Regions from separate parts of the Homo sapiens genome. Here region 2 is linked to region 1. The links are contacts of gene promoters, found by promoter capture Hi-C in blood cells and fetal thymus (Javierre and others, 2016). All regions are on one chromosome and are shown on one strand. The core of a region is centred on a gene start or on the middle of the fragment in contact, and the rest is flanking DNA. Distances in the headings are between cores, read along the strand shown. Region 1 holds the start of SLFN5 (schlafen family member 5). Region 2 has its middle 54 kb from the start of SLFN5.

Evidence for each region. The method cuts DNA at HindIII sites, captures the fragments that hold promoters and counts their contacts. A CHiCAGO score of 5 or more calls a contact.
Region 2: a contact is called between a fragment that was not itself captured here and the fragment with the promoter of SLFN5 in region 1, in 1 of 17 cell types (non-activated CD4 T cells). The highest score is 5.3, in non-activated CD4 T cells.

What each region holds. Positions count from the first base shown.
Region 1 is chr17:35,237,966-35,244,321 of GRCh38, reverse strand. SLFN5 (schlafen family member 5) reads right to left here and starts at 1,250. Exons shown (of 5, transcript NM_144975.4): 1 at 1,179-1,250. LOC105371932 reads left to right here and starts at 171. Exons shown (of 4, transcript XM_047437262.1): 1 at 171-211; 2 at 1,103-1,400; 3 at 1,497-1,696; 4 at 2,352-4,279. The coding sequence starts at 171. The coding sequence ends at 2,799. RefSeq lists enhancers at 207-835, 809-918, 1,439-1,498. The HindIII fragment of the contact is 6,062 bases long and covers 1-2,595 here.
Region 2 is chr17:35,294,418-35,300,644 of GRCh38, reverse strand. No RefSeq gene overlaps it. Among named protein-coding and RNA genes, the nearest start is that of SLFN5, 54 kb to the right of the region's middle. The HindIII fragment of the contact is 410 bases long and covers 1,439-1,848 here.

The sequences.
Region 1 (6,356 bases), core at 1-2,500:
GACAAAGGATCCCCTTCTGGTGCAACCGAGCCCCTCAAGATTTCAGCACCCCAACATTTTTAGTGATGAAACCATGAAAATTCCGATGAGGCCCTTGCTTATTTGCATATGTTAACTACCCACTTTTTGCCCAATATTCCTTTTTCTAGCAATATAATTATAAACTGCTGATGCACCGTTTCTTTGTCAAGCAGGAGGATATAGCTTCAGAGTCAAGAAAAAAATTTTGCAGAAGGAATGAATGCCTTTAAGGGCATTGTGACCAGCTGCTGACGCCCAGAAGTCTGGTGGTTCAAGATGTAATCTGAGACGAAGAAAGACTTTTCCCCGAGGTTCCCTGAAATTCCCCCTCCCTTACTTCCTGGTCTCATAAAAACTCCCCACTACTTCTTTTTGTTAGGGTGGATTTGAGAGATCTTGACCTCTTGCCTTCTCGCTTTGGCCAAATGGAATAAATCTTCCTCTGTCTCCAAGCATCTGTGTGTCAGTGTTTGGCATCAACAGCACATCAGGTTCCTGAGCCTGAATTTGGGCTTCGACAACTCGGGCTCCCGGGACACATGCAAGAGGGAAACGGAATCACACCGCAGTCTCAGCCACTGCGGATATGACCAACTAGGGCTCTAGTTAGTCACTGTATGGGGGATACAGGGCTTTGTGGGCTACCCTAGTAGCCTGCCCCTGTTGTTACAGTTTGAAGACTGACGTTCCAAGCCAGGGGCTTATAGGCAAGCCTCTGGAACAAAGCCTCTTGTAATAGACTGGACATTGGCCCTATTTGTCCCCAGGCCACAACCCATTTAACTTCATCCTCGGGAGCCCCGATTTCGTCGTTTTCCCTTAAGTCCTTCGTGCTCCTGAACCGTGGGGAAATGTTGCCAGGTTTGGTTTGCTAAGATGTAGGCTGCGCTGGGTCGGCGCCTCTCCCTCCTCCCCAGCTCGCCCCGCGTTCCGAACCTCCCAGCTCCCGGGTCCTCTGCCACTAGCTGTCGTTGGAGGTGCTCCTGAGTCAACAAACTAAATCTCCCCAGCGGGAAAGACTCTCTCCCGGCAGCGCCCAGACCTGGGGAGCTGCAGTCGCCGCACCTTGTCTTCACCACAGCCCAATAGGAGAACCCGCGCAGACCGGGGGGAGGTTTGGGGAAGGCCTGGGCAAAGAAGCGCGGGGGATTCATTACCCGCTGGGTTCTCCTCGGCAGCGCGTCTCCCTCCGGGAGCAGGCAACGGAGCCTCCCAAGTCCAGAGCAGAGAACCTGACCCGGCGGGATCCCGGGCTTATATCAGCTGAGTTCCGTGACACCTCCCGGGGCGGGACATCGCGCAGGAGACAGACAGAGGTACAGCCCAATCGCATCGTTACGTGGAGCCGGAAGCCCACTCTTGCAACTACAACAGTCTTGGTAAACCTTGGGTGGACTGGGGAGAACTGAGGAGGGGAAGCGCTTTTTTGTTGCTTCTCTGTGTTTTCTATTTTATTTTATTTATTTTATTTTTAGATTTTCAGTTCTTATTTCACCCAGGGAAGGAGACCTGGGTATCCACCCCATGTCCTCCAGAGAACTTCCCTGGCCCCGCTCGGAGTCTTCCTGGGACGCCACAGGCTCGGAGAGCGCTCCGCAGGTTTCTCCCCCGGCGCCTCCAAATCTTTCGATTCCTACTCGAATTACTCCGTCAGCTGCTGGAAGAGGGGCAAGGGGTATGGCGAGACGCGTTGGTACATGGGGCACTGGGGGGAAGGGAAAGCCTCCCTCCTTCTCCTAGTAATTCGAGAATGTTGCGTCCGCCTCCTTTCTTTTGCTGGCGCTAGGGGCTCGGACCAGCACCTGCCAGGCATAGGTGTGGCCACTGGGGCGAAACCTGGCAGGCTCTGGAAACAGCGTTTTACTGACAGGAAAGAGAAACTGTTCTTTGTATTCATCACCCACCGCAGACTTCCTCACGCCCGGGTCTTAGGCGGGGCTGTCAGATTTCAGTGTGTTTCTCTTAATTCTAGTACTAAATTTGTACTGGGCGCTGGCGAAGGGCCTGGCTCCGCCACGCGCGGCCCTCTCGAACTGCCCGTGGGTACGGCGCGCGCTGCTGCCCTGTGTGGCCTGTGCGGGGAACCCGAGGGCCGAAGTGGGCCCCGCCGCAGCACAGGGGGACAAGAGAACCAGGAGCGGGCTGCCTGGGGGCAGATTCGAACCCGTGCTCCCAGCGGATAGAAGTAGCACTTGGGGACTCCTAAAATATTCAGCCCAATCCTGATTCCAGCTGCCCTCTCTAGGCACCTTTCCTCTACCCTTCTTCCAGTTTACAATTCTGGTGAGTAGATGTTTCTCTATCTCTTCTCTTCCAACTCCTGCGCCCAGAGCCAGGAGGACTTCTGGAGCCCGCCCAGCAAGACCCTCTCTCTCCCATCTTCTGCTCAAGGGCTCGAGGTCTCAGTGGACAGAGCTGAAGAAAAGCCGTCTATGGAGCCTGCGCCAGGCGCAGACTGGGTCGTCGCAGTCTGGGTCGTCGCAGTCTGGGCCGGGGCGCTGGAAGTCTTACTCACTTCTCAAGAACCCGCAAGGGATCAGGCCTGACCCTTTGCAAGTGACAGAATCCAAAGCTTTGAGCTCATGGGAAAGTGGCTGGAAAGAAGGTCACTGTAGGGCCGCACAGGTCTCTGGCGAGGCTACCCAAGAACATTTAAATCCCTGCCCAGAGAAGAAGAGGCTCCAGCTGTCCTGCACCTTCCTGGGAACTGGCAGTCCCTCCGCGCAGGGGTTCTGCAGCGACCGGCAGCGCGAGGAGACAAGGATGGTGGCCAGTTAACAGAAAATCAAGGCAGCGGGAAAGGTCTGGAAAACACCACCTACTATCACCTCTGGAGCCTGGGATTATGGGATAAGTTTTCGATTTTTAAATGTATTGTCAAATAGCTAAAGTACACGGAAAGTGCGAAATAATAGTAAATTGAACACCTGTGTATTCACCACACAGCTTAAGCAATAACATTAGCAATATTTGGGTACCCAGCTGGTCTCATTCCCTCATTCCACTTGTCCCCTACTCACCTGATAGCCAGTACAATTTTATGAATTTAAAGTTACTAATTCCCATGCAACTGTTTATACTTTTAGTAAATGTGTTTATGTCCCTCATCAACACATGACACTGATTCAACACATGTATATGCGTTTAAGCTGCATGTAAATGGCATCATGTTGGCCAGGTGCAGTTACTCACGACTGTAATTCCAGCACTTTGGAAGGCTGAGAGGGAAGACGGCTTGAGGCCCAGAGTTTGAGACCAGCCTGGGCAACATAGCAAGACCCTATCTCTAAAAAAAAAAAATTGTTTGTTTGTTTGTTTGTTTGTTTGAGACGGAGTCTTGCTGTGTCACTCAGGCTGGAGTGCAGTGGCGCAATCTCGGCTTGCTGCAATGTCGGCCTCCGGGGTTCAAGCAATTCTCCTGCCTTGGCCTCCCAAGTAGCTGGGACTACAGGCACATCCCACCACGCCCAGCTGATTTTTGTATTTTTAGTAGAGACAAGGTTTCACCATATTGGCCATGCTGGTCTACGAACTCTTGACCTCATGATCTGCCTGCCTCGGCTTTCCAAAGTGCTGGAATTACAGGTGTGAGCCCCCGCGCCCAGCCAAAAAAATTGTTTTAAATTAGCTGGGTGTGGTGGTGCCTGCCTATGAAGTCCCAGCTACTCAGGAGGCTGAAGTGGGAAGATGGCTTGAGCCCAGGAGTTGAAGGATGCTATGAGCTCTGATTGTGCCACTGCACCCCTGCATGGGCAATAGAGTGAGACCCTGTCTCTTTAAAAAAAAAAAAAAAAGTATCATATTGTATGTGTTCTGTAGAACTTGCTCCCACACTTTAACATTTTGCTTTAAAGATTTGTTCATGTACTTAGATCATTCCTTTTCACTGCTTTATGAGCTGAATCATTTCTGCTCTTCTTTCCATCCATACCCATTGGTCTCCAAAGTATCCAGGCCTCCCCAAAAGTTCCTGCAGGAGACCTCAGTTCCACTGGCTTTCAGGTCATTATTGTTCCAGCACTACTTCTCCATTTCTGGTTCCAGCCCTTCTCTCCCACATTCTCAAGCTTCTAGAGGGTCATAAGAGAGGAAAAACGCCAAATGCCTTTGATAAAATGTTGCCTTTCCAGTGGTATGCATGTTTGTGTGGAGTGGGAGGGAAGTGAGGGCAGATGTGACTTACTCTCAGCATTAATTCAAGTTTAAAAGTAAAATCTTTAGGTTTGCCTTGTCCAGTAAAAAATGCCAAGAGCCATAACTGCTCATTCTCTCTCTCTCTCTCTCTTCTCTCTCTCTCCTCTCTCTCTCTCTCTCATACACACACTTGGTTAATGCAATATTTACGTTGTTTTTGCTTCAACAAACTAAAGAGGAGAAGAGAGTTGGTAGGTTAAAGGGGCAGGTTATTCTTTTTTTTTTTTTTTTTTTTGAGGCAGAATCTCGCTTTGTCACCCAGGCTGGAGAGCAGTGGCTCGATCTTGGCTCGCTGCAAGCTCTACCTCCCAGGTTCATGCCATTCTCCTGCCTCAGCCTCCTGAGTAGCTGGGACTACAGGTGCCCGCCACCACACCCAGCTATTTTTTTTTTTTTTGTATTTTTAGTAGAGACGGGGTTTCACTGTGTTAGCCAGGATGGTCTCAGTCTCCTGACCTCATGTTCCGCCCGCCTCGGCCTCCCAAAGTGCTGGGATTACAGGCGTGAGCCACTGTGCCCGGCCAAAGGGGCATGTTATCTTATTAAGGGCAGGCAGTCTCTCACAGAAAGAATCACTGTATTAGTGTAGGGAGAATCACTGCCTAGGTCAGCCGTGTGTCAATGACCTGTGTCACTGTCCTCAGTCTGCACAGTGAGACTGGAGGCTGCATGCCATGGTCTACAGATCCCTCACTACAGAAAATTTGCTTCAGCATTCTCCGTGAGAGTCACAGGGAGATTGATTATGGGGGTCAATGCTCAATGGCATCATGGCTGGCCAAGCTTTTTGCAGAAACTTTTACTAGGGGACTGAGGATTATAGCAGCAAGCATCTTAGCATAGAGCCTTATCTGTGTTTCCACAGACTATCTTTCAAACCCAAGCTACTTGTTTATAATATTCACTTTTCAGGCAAAAACATATTTTCCACTTTTTTTCTTTTCTTGATAAAAAGTTTAAAAAACAAAATTTGCATAAACACGTATATGATGTTTCTTAGGAACAATGTTTGCCATTTGACAAAGTGTGGTGAAATTTTGTCAGAACAAGTTTACTTGAAGGAGGGATGAGACATCCTTTATCAATGTTCATATGAATCACACACATCAGAGAGAGTGGGAGGGAGAATCTTGGTTCTCTGGCACTCCCAGTACCCACATTGAGATCCGAGAGTGTCCTGATGATTTTCCTGTCTCAGTAAGTAATTAAGCTTTTCCTGAAGGAGCTCAGTTAAGTCCAAGCTTAATTTCAGTCAAGTCCAATGTTTAAGTTGCTTTTTCAGCTACATGAAATGAAAGTGTGACTCAGAATTTTCTCTCTATATCCCCTCAGATCTTTAGCACACTGAGGGTAATTACAGAGTCTCAAAGCATATCCCCACAAGATGCTCTATTTATTACAAAGGAAAAAGACACTAATTTTCCAGAGAATCCTGGAATATATCACCTCAACCAAGTGATCAAAGTTAACATCATTAGTAACAGGACAAATTAAATTGCATGCCACTAAAAGAACAATTTTTATTTCTTATGTATTCCTGACCCAATAAAACAAAACAAAACAGCACAATAGAAAGTAACTATAAGGAAACATTAGAGGGTTCAATGGTGCCCACCTGTAGTCCAAGCTACTTGGGAGTTTGAGGCAGGAGGATTGCTTGAGGCCAGGAGTTCAAGACCAGCCTGGGCAATATAGCAAGACCCTGTCTCAAAGTAAAAAGAAAAGAAAACGTTAAACCCAAACCCAAATGGAAAGACTGTTCTAGATTGAAGAACATTAAAAAGACAAGACAAAGTCACCATGTAATCCTAGGCTGTAGCTCGGACTAGAAAAAAAATTCTTTTTGCTGTAAAGGACACTCTGGCAATTGTGAGAATGCACTTCAAAGACCTCAACTTGGAGCTTAATTCACAAAGCACCCCAGCTGCCTCACTTTGAAATCCATTGCACATTTGTGTGAAGGCCATGCTTCCATGGGCTGCTCCCAGCTGATGACTGAGTATGGCAAGGACAGCAGGGCAGGCCTTCTCCTAGGAGACAAAGGATGCCTCTAATGGCCAACTTTTGCTTGACTTTGAGTAAATATCTGGCATACTTCCACCCAATCTTTTTCCCCTCTCCTCCACACAGGATCAGACTTG
Region 2 (6,227 bases), core at 394-2,893, 56 kb before region 1:
GCAGTGGCGCGATCTCAGCTCACTGCAATCTCTGCCTCCTGGGTTCATGCCATTCTCCTGCCTCAGCCTCCCGAGTAGCTGGGACTATGGGCACCTGCCACCACACCTGGCTAATTTTTTGTATTTTTAGTAGAGACGGGGTTTCACCATGTTAGCCAGGATGGTCTCAATCTCCTGACCTCGTGATCCACCTGCCTCGGCCTCCCAAAGTGCTGGGATTACAAGCGTGAGCCACTGTGCCTGGCCATAAATTCTTTTTTCTTTAATATCAAGATTAGAAGTTAGGGTATTTCACTAAATAGTTCAAGATGTAGCTATCTTTATTAAACCAATATTAATGTTTCATTGATTAAAAAATTACAGAAGCAAAGATTATTCTGTTTGGGCTGAGTTATAGTTTTGTGGCCTCTATGCAAAATTTTCACATCTTATAGTATTTGGCAGAGATAACTATGAAATTGCTTGATTAATAAATGCAAACAAAAATGTATGCTGGAAACTTTTAAGACATTTCTAATCTTACTGTACTAGTAAGTTTTAAAGATTAAAGTCACATGAACTGAAAGGTCCCACAGCTTTTACTTTTCTGTTAAAAATATTTGATTTAAGTGCTTATTTTTCTTAGGTCAATTAATTAGAGCTTTTTAAATAGGCATTGCACACATAACACATACATAGCCACACAGACAACCAGAAGAAGATCCAGTAATTAGAATTTTTTTTTTTTTTGCCCCTTTCCCAATTGGATCACTGGCCTTTGGGTGAGACCCTTTAAGAACAGGGCTATGAAAACAGTTTCCAGGGCCTAATAAACAAGCATAGCTGGAAGACAAAGACAGATTTTGAGAGGTACTTATTCATCTTTAATTCCAGGGGTTCCATAAGGAAAACAGATTTTTTCCCAAAACGGGATTTGTGGCAGCTTTTCTGTTTTCCCAAGGAGTCCCAGGCCACCAGAAGTCATTTTGGGATTTTTCATATATGCACCAAGAGTGGTAAGACAGAGTGGAGAAAAGTAATTCAGTTGACTGGGGAAAAAAACCTTTTCCAGGAAAACAAGATTTATGAAGAGAAAAACATAAAGGCCTTTTGAATATACTCATAGCTTGAATATTCATTTTAATTAAATTGAGAGCTGTTTTTCATCAGGGGTGAGGGTGGAGGTTAGAATTATATAAATATGCCATGTTAAATTAAAGGATTGGGTTATGTGCAGGAATTCCCTGCACTAGTCAGGGGGATTTTCAGAGAAAGATCCCAGGCACTGTTTGATCTGCGACAAATCAGATGTGGAGAAAGGGCATGAATGGGAGCAATGCCTTCAACCGCAGCCACTTCCTGGAGACGGAGAATGGCAGGGTGGTTTGACTGGTTGGAGCAGTTTTTGAATGGGTAACAGATGGAGAAGGAGAAGGAGCAGGGTTTGGAGCTGAAAGCTTGCGGGCAGGAGGCGTCACTGAAGTGGAGGATTCAGATAGGTTGAGGAGCAGATGCAGGGGGATAAGAATATGGAGGGGGTTCATCTGCAGGGTCAAAGGGGTTTTGGAGGAAGGAGTTTCAGAGAAAGGAGAGACCTGGGGAAGGTTATCATTAAGAAGAAAGACTTCATGAGGGGTGCAAGTTTGACACAGGGAGGGTTGGGATCTAAAGTAAAAGAAAGCCTGAATATAGGGAACCTCCTGCCATTTGCTGTTCCTAGTTATAAAGTTGTCAAGGTCCCTGAGAATTTGAAAGTCAAAGGTGCCATTTTCAGGCTACCAGCTGTCATTATCTAATTTGTATTGGGGCCAGGCCATGTTGCAATAAAAAAGCATACTCTTTGGCTTTATGCTTCCTTTAAGCCAAGCTTAGCAACATTGTGAAGGAGACAGCCCAATGGAGAGGACTTAGGAAAGTGGGATTGTTTGGCACCCATGTGGACTGGTAAGAGGAAGCTGAAGGTGTCTGTTTTTGTTCTAGGCATCCACAGATAAAAGACAGAAACCTGGAATCCTCTTTATAAAGAGGATGATCAAGCTGCGAAGAAACTGGGCATCTCCAAGATTTCTTCTAGCTTAGTCCCACTGGTCCTCTGAGGACCGGGACAGCTGACCTGACTCTCCCAGGTGCTGTGAGAAAGTCAGGAGAGGGCAGATCTTACTAGTCAGCTGGATTAGTGTCCGATGTTGGATGTTCTGATTGGAATTGGCAAAGGGCCCCTTGGACTAGAGCTTCACAAGGAAGAGAGGGAGAGAGAGACAGAGAGAGAGAGAGAGAGAGAGAGAGAGAGAGAAGAGGATGAGGGAGGAGGGAAGAGAGCAAAATACCCATTGTGGGCAGCCAGAGGTGGATTCCTAAGACCTGAGGGCTTTGAGGGTTCACTGGAGATTTGCCCCAGCCTGAGCCTCACAGTCCCCTTCAGGTTAGTTGTCCTCCTCAGACAAATTGCTAGAAAAGTGAAGTGAGAGACAAGACAAGATGGGTGGCCAGAGACTCTCAGGATCCAGCAGGATGAGCAGCTGCTGTCCACTGCTTTTTGGGTTGCAGGAGAACCTCTACCCCCAGCACCCATCCTGAGTTTTGGCAGCAAATGTAAGAGTTAAAGAAAGAGGAAAGAAACACGAAAAGTGACTCACCAGTCAAAGACAGGTTTATTTTGGAGAATAAACCTGAGAGGGGCTTCTGGCTGATTTTGGTCAGGAGCACACTCTCTTACAGATTAAGCGTATTTGTTGATTTTAGGGTGAGAGAGCTTATCATAGGCTTGGAATGTTTCTTTGTGGGGAAGAAGTTTATTGTGGGTTTGGAATGTCTCTGGTAGGAGGGGAGGTTGTCTTGGGGCTGACATCTCTCTGGGGAGGGGTTTATCTTATGGTTGAAATGTTTCTGGTCAGAGATGTCATTTATGGTTTATGGTCATGCTGGCCTTAGCCTTTAGGCTGATGCCCTGTGGATTTAGGTGGTTTTTGATTAAGGGGAACTTTAGAATGGTGGTGTTTGTCCAAGATGGTGATGCTCCTGTTCTGTCAAAGTCCCTAGGCTGCACACAGCACAGGGATCCTCTGTCCAGCCCAGGAAACTACTTTTTCCTCCTGGGCCTCCAGACCTGTGATGGGAGGGGCTGCTGTGAAGGTCTCTGACATGGCCTAAAGACATTTTCCCCATGGTCTTGGGGATTAACAGTAGGCTCCTCACTGCTTATGCAAATTTCTGCAGCTGGCTTGAATTTCTCCCCAGAAAATGGGGTTTTCTTTTCTATTGCATAGTCAGGTTGCAAACTTTCCAAACTTTTATGCTCTGCTTCTGTTATGAAATTGAATGCCTTTAACAAGTCACCTCTTGAATGCTTTGCTGCTTAGAAATTTCTTCCACCAGATACCCTAAATCATCTTTCTCAAGTTCAAAGTTTTACAAATTTCTAGGGCAGGGGCAAAATGCCACCAGCCTCTTTGCTAAAACATAACAAGATCCACCTTTACTCCAGTTCCCAACAAGCTCCTCATCTCCATCTGAGACCACCTCAGCCTAGACCTTATTGTCCATATCACTATCAGCATTTTGGTCAAAGCCATTCAACAAGTCTCTAGGAAGTTCCAAACTTTCCCACATTTTCCTGTCTTCCTCTGGGGCTTCCAAACTGTTCCAACTTCTGCCTGTTACCCAGCTCCAAAATCACTTTCACATTTTCTGGTATCTTTTCAGCAATACCCCTCTACTGGTAACAATTTACTATATTAGTCTGTTTTCATGCTGCTGATAAAGACATACCCAAGACTGGGAAGAAAAGGAGGTTTATTGGGACAGTTCCACATGGCTGGGGAAATCTCAGAATCATGGCGGGAAGTGAAGGCACTTCTTACATGGTGGTGGCAAGAGAAAATGAGCTAGAAGCAAATGAGGAAACCCCTGATAATCCCATCAGATCTCATGAGACTTATTCACTATCATGAGAATAGCATGGGAAAAGACGGCCTCCATCATTAAACTACCTCTCCCTGGGTCCCTCCCATAACATGTGGGAATTCCGGGAGATACAATTCAAGCTCAGATTTGGATGGGGACACAGCCAAACCATATCAATGACTGTACTAATTTACATTTCCTCCAACAGTGTACAAGAGTTTTCTTTTTTCCTCATCCTCTCCAACACTTGTTTTCATTCATCTTTTTTGTAATAGTCAATCTAACAGCATGAGGTGATATATTATTGTGGTTTTATTTACATTTCCCTGATCAGTAATATTGAGCATTTTTCCAAATATCTATTGGCCATTTGTGTGTATTTTGAAAAATGTGTATTCACATTGTTTGCCCAGTTTTTAATCAAGTTATTTGTTTCTTTCGATTGAGTCATTTGAATACCTTGTATATTTTGGATATTAGCCCATTTTATGCTGTATAATTTGCAAATATGTTCTCCCAATCCGTGGACTGTATCTTCACTCTGTTAATTATTTCCTTTGCTGTGCAGTAGTTTTTTTTGTTTGATGCAATACCATTTGTCTATTATTGTTTTCATTGCCTGTACTTTTGGGACCTAGCAAAGAAATCACTGCCCAGAACAAGCTCACGTTTTTTATGGTAAGAAGGAAAAGTCTATATTCTGAAAAGATGGCAGATGTTTTATTTAACCAGAAATTAACTGCCTTCAAGGACCCTTTTTTAGATTCTTTCTGAGGATCCTTGAAGGGAGTCCATTTCCTGGAAATTAACGCAGGAAATGGGAGTTTCAAGGATGGAGATTCTTTAGGCATGAGTATAGTCTAGAGGAAGATGTGACAAATCACATAATTGGGCTTCAAGCAGTGATGGCCCAGGAAGGCCTAACTGGACTCCTAAGGACTCAGCAGAACTGAAGGCATTTGAGAGCACTCACTCCTTCTGTCAGACTCTCTCCAAAGTTAAATCAAGGAGAAATATTGTTTTTTCCATTATGCTGATGCAGCCTGACCACTGTGAGGACTGTGGGACTTTACAAGGATGGTGTTAAAAGTAGAGGTAAACAGCAAGATTTCACAATCATGCAAAGGAAAGAAAAGGGCGCTATAAAAATATATTAACTAACCAGCCAAGGAAAGGGAAAGGGGAGAAAAACAAGAAAATTCAGTGTTGCAAAAGTGATAATTTGCAACTGACAATGTTTGCTCTGATTCTGTTTTTCTACCCTGCCCCTGCCTCTGCCTCTCTTGGCCTCTCCAAGACCTGACACAATGCCCGCCCCGCCCGTCCCATCCTTCATATCCACACTCAATCACAGTGTGAATGTCAAGACTGAGAAGAACCTGCCCTAGGGTTTCACATGGCAGCTTTTTGCTCACTGAGGCCTCCCTGACTTCCCAGTCTAATGTACCAACTCCTCTTACCAGACAGACAAACCAGACAGACACACATTCACAGATACCGAGAGCCTTTCTGTTGTACTGCCTTGCTTTACAACCCTATTATCCCTTTTCATGCTCTGCCATTCCGTGTACTCATGTTTGTTCACATATTCCAGAACTTTCCTGTCATGTCTGCCTCTGGACTCCCAGCACTTAGATCTACTAGTTTCATACACAGGCTGGGGTAGGAGCCTGTGTATGAAACTTCTTAGATGGAAAGCCTTCCAATCAGTTATCACCCTTTAGAATATACAGTTGTGTCTCACCCTGGAGGCTGGAAAGAGTTGAAGGTTCTGTGCAACAGTTGTTTCAGCTGCTCTTGGAGGGGTCAGAAATGTGACCTGCATCTTTGCCAACATATGTTATTTTTTGACTTTTTAGTAATAACCATTCGGACTCATGTAAGATGATATCTCATTGTGGTTTTCATTTGCATTTATCTGACAATTAGTGATGCTGAAAATTTTTTTATATGCTTGTTGGTCATTTGTATGTCTTCTTTAAAAAAATGTCTATTCAAATCCTTTGCCCACTTTTGTTGTTGTTGCTGTTATTGTTGTTGAAGTTTGAGTTTTTCACAAATTCTGGATGCCAGTCCCCTGTTGAATGGTTGAATGGATAGTTTGCAAATATTTTCTCCCATTCTGCAGGTCTGTTCACTCTATTGATTTTTTTTTCTGTGCAGAAGCTTTTTAGTTTAAGTCCCATTTGTCTATTTTTGTTTTTGTTGCTTGTGATTTTGAGGCCTTAGTCATAAATTCGTTGCCTAGATCAATGTCCACAAGAGTTTTACCTAGGTTTTCTTCTAGAATTTTTATAGTTTCACGTCTTATAATTGAGTCTTTAATCCATCTTGTATATCGTGAG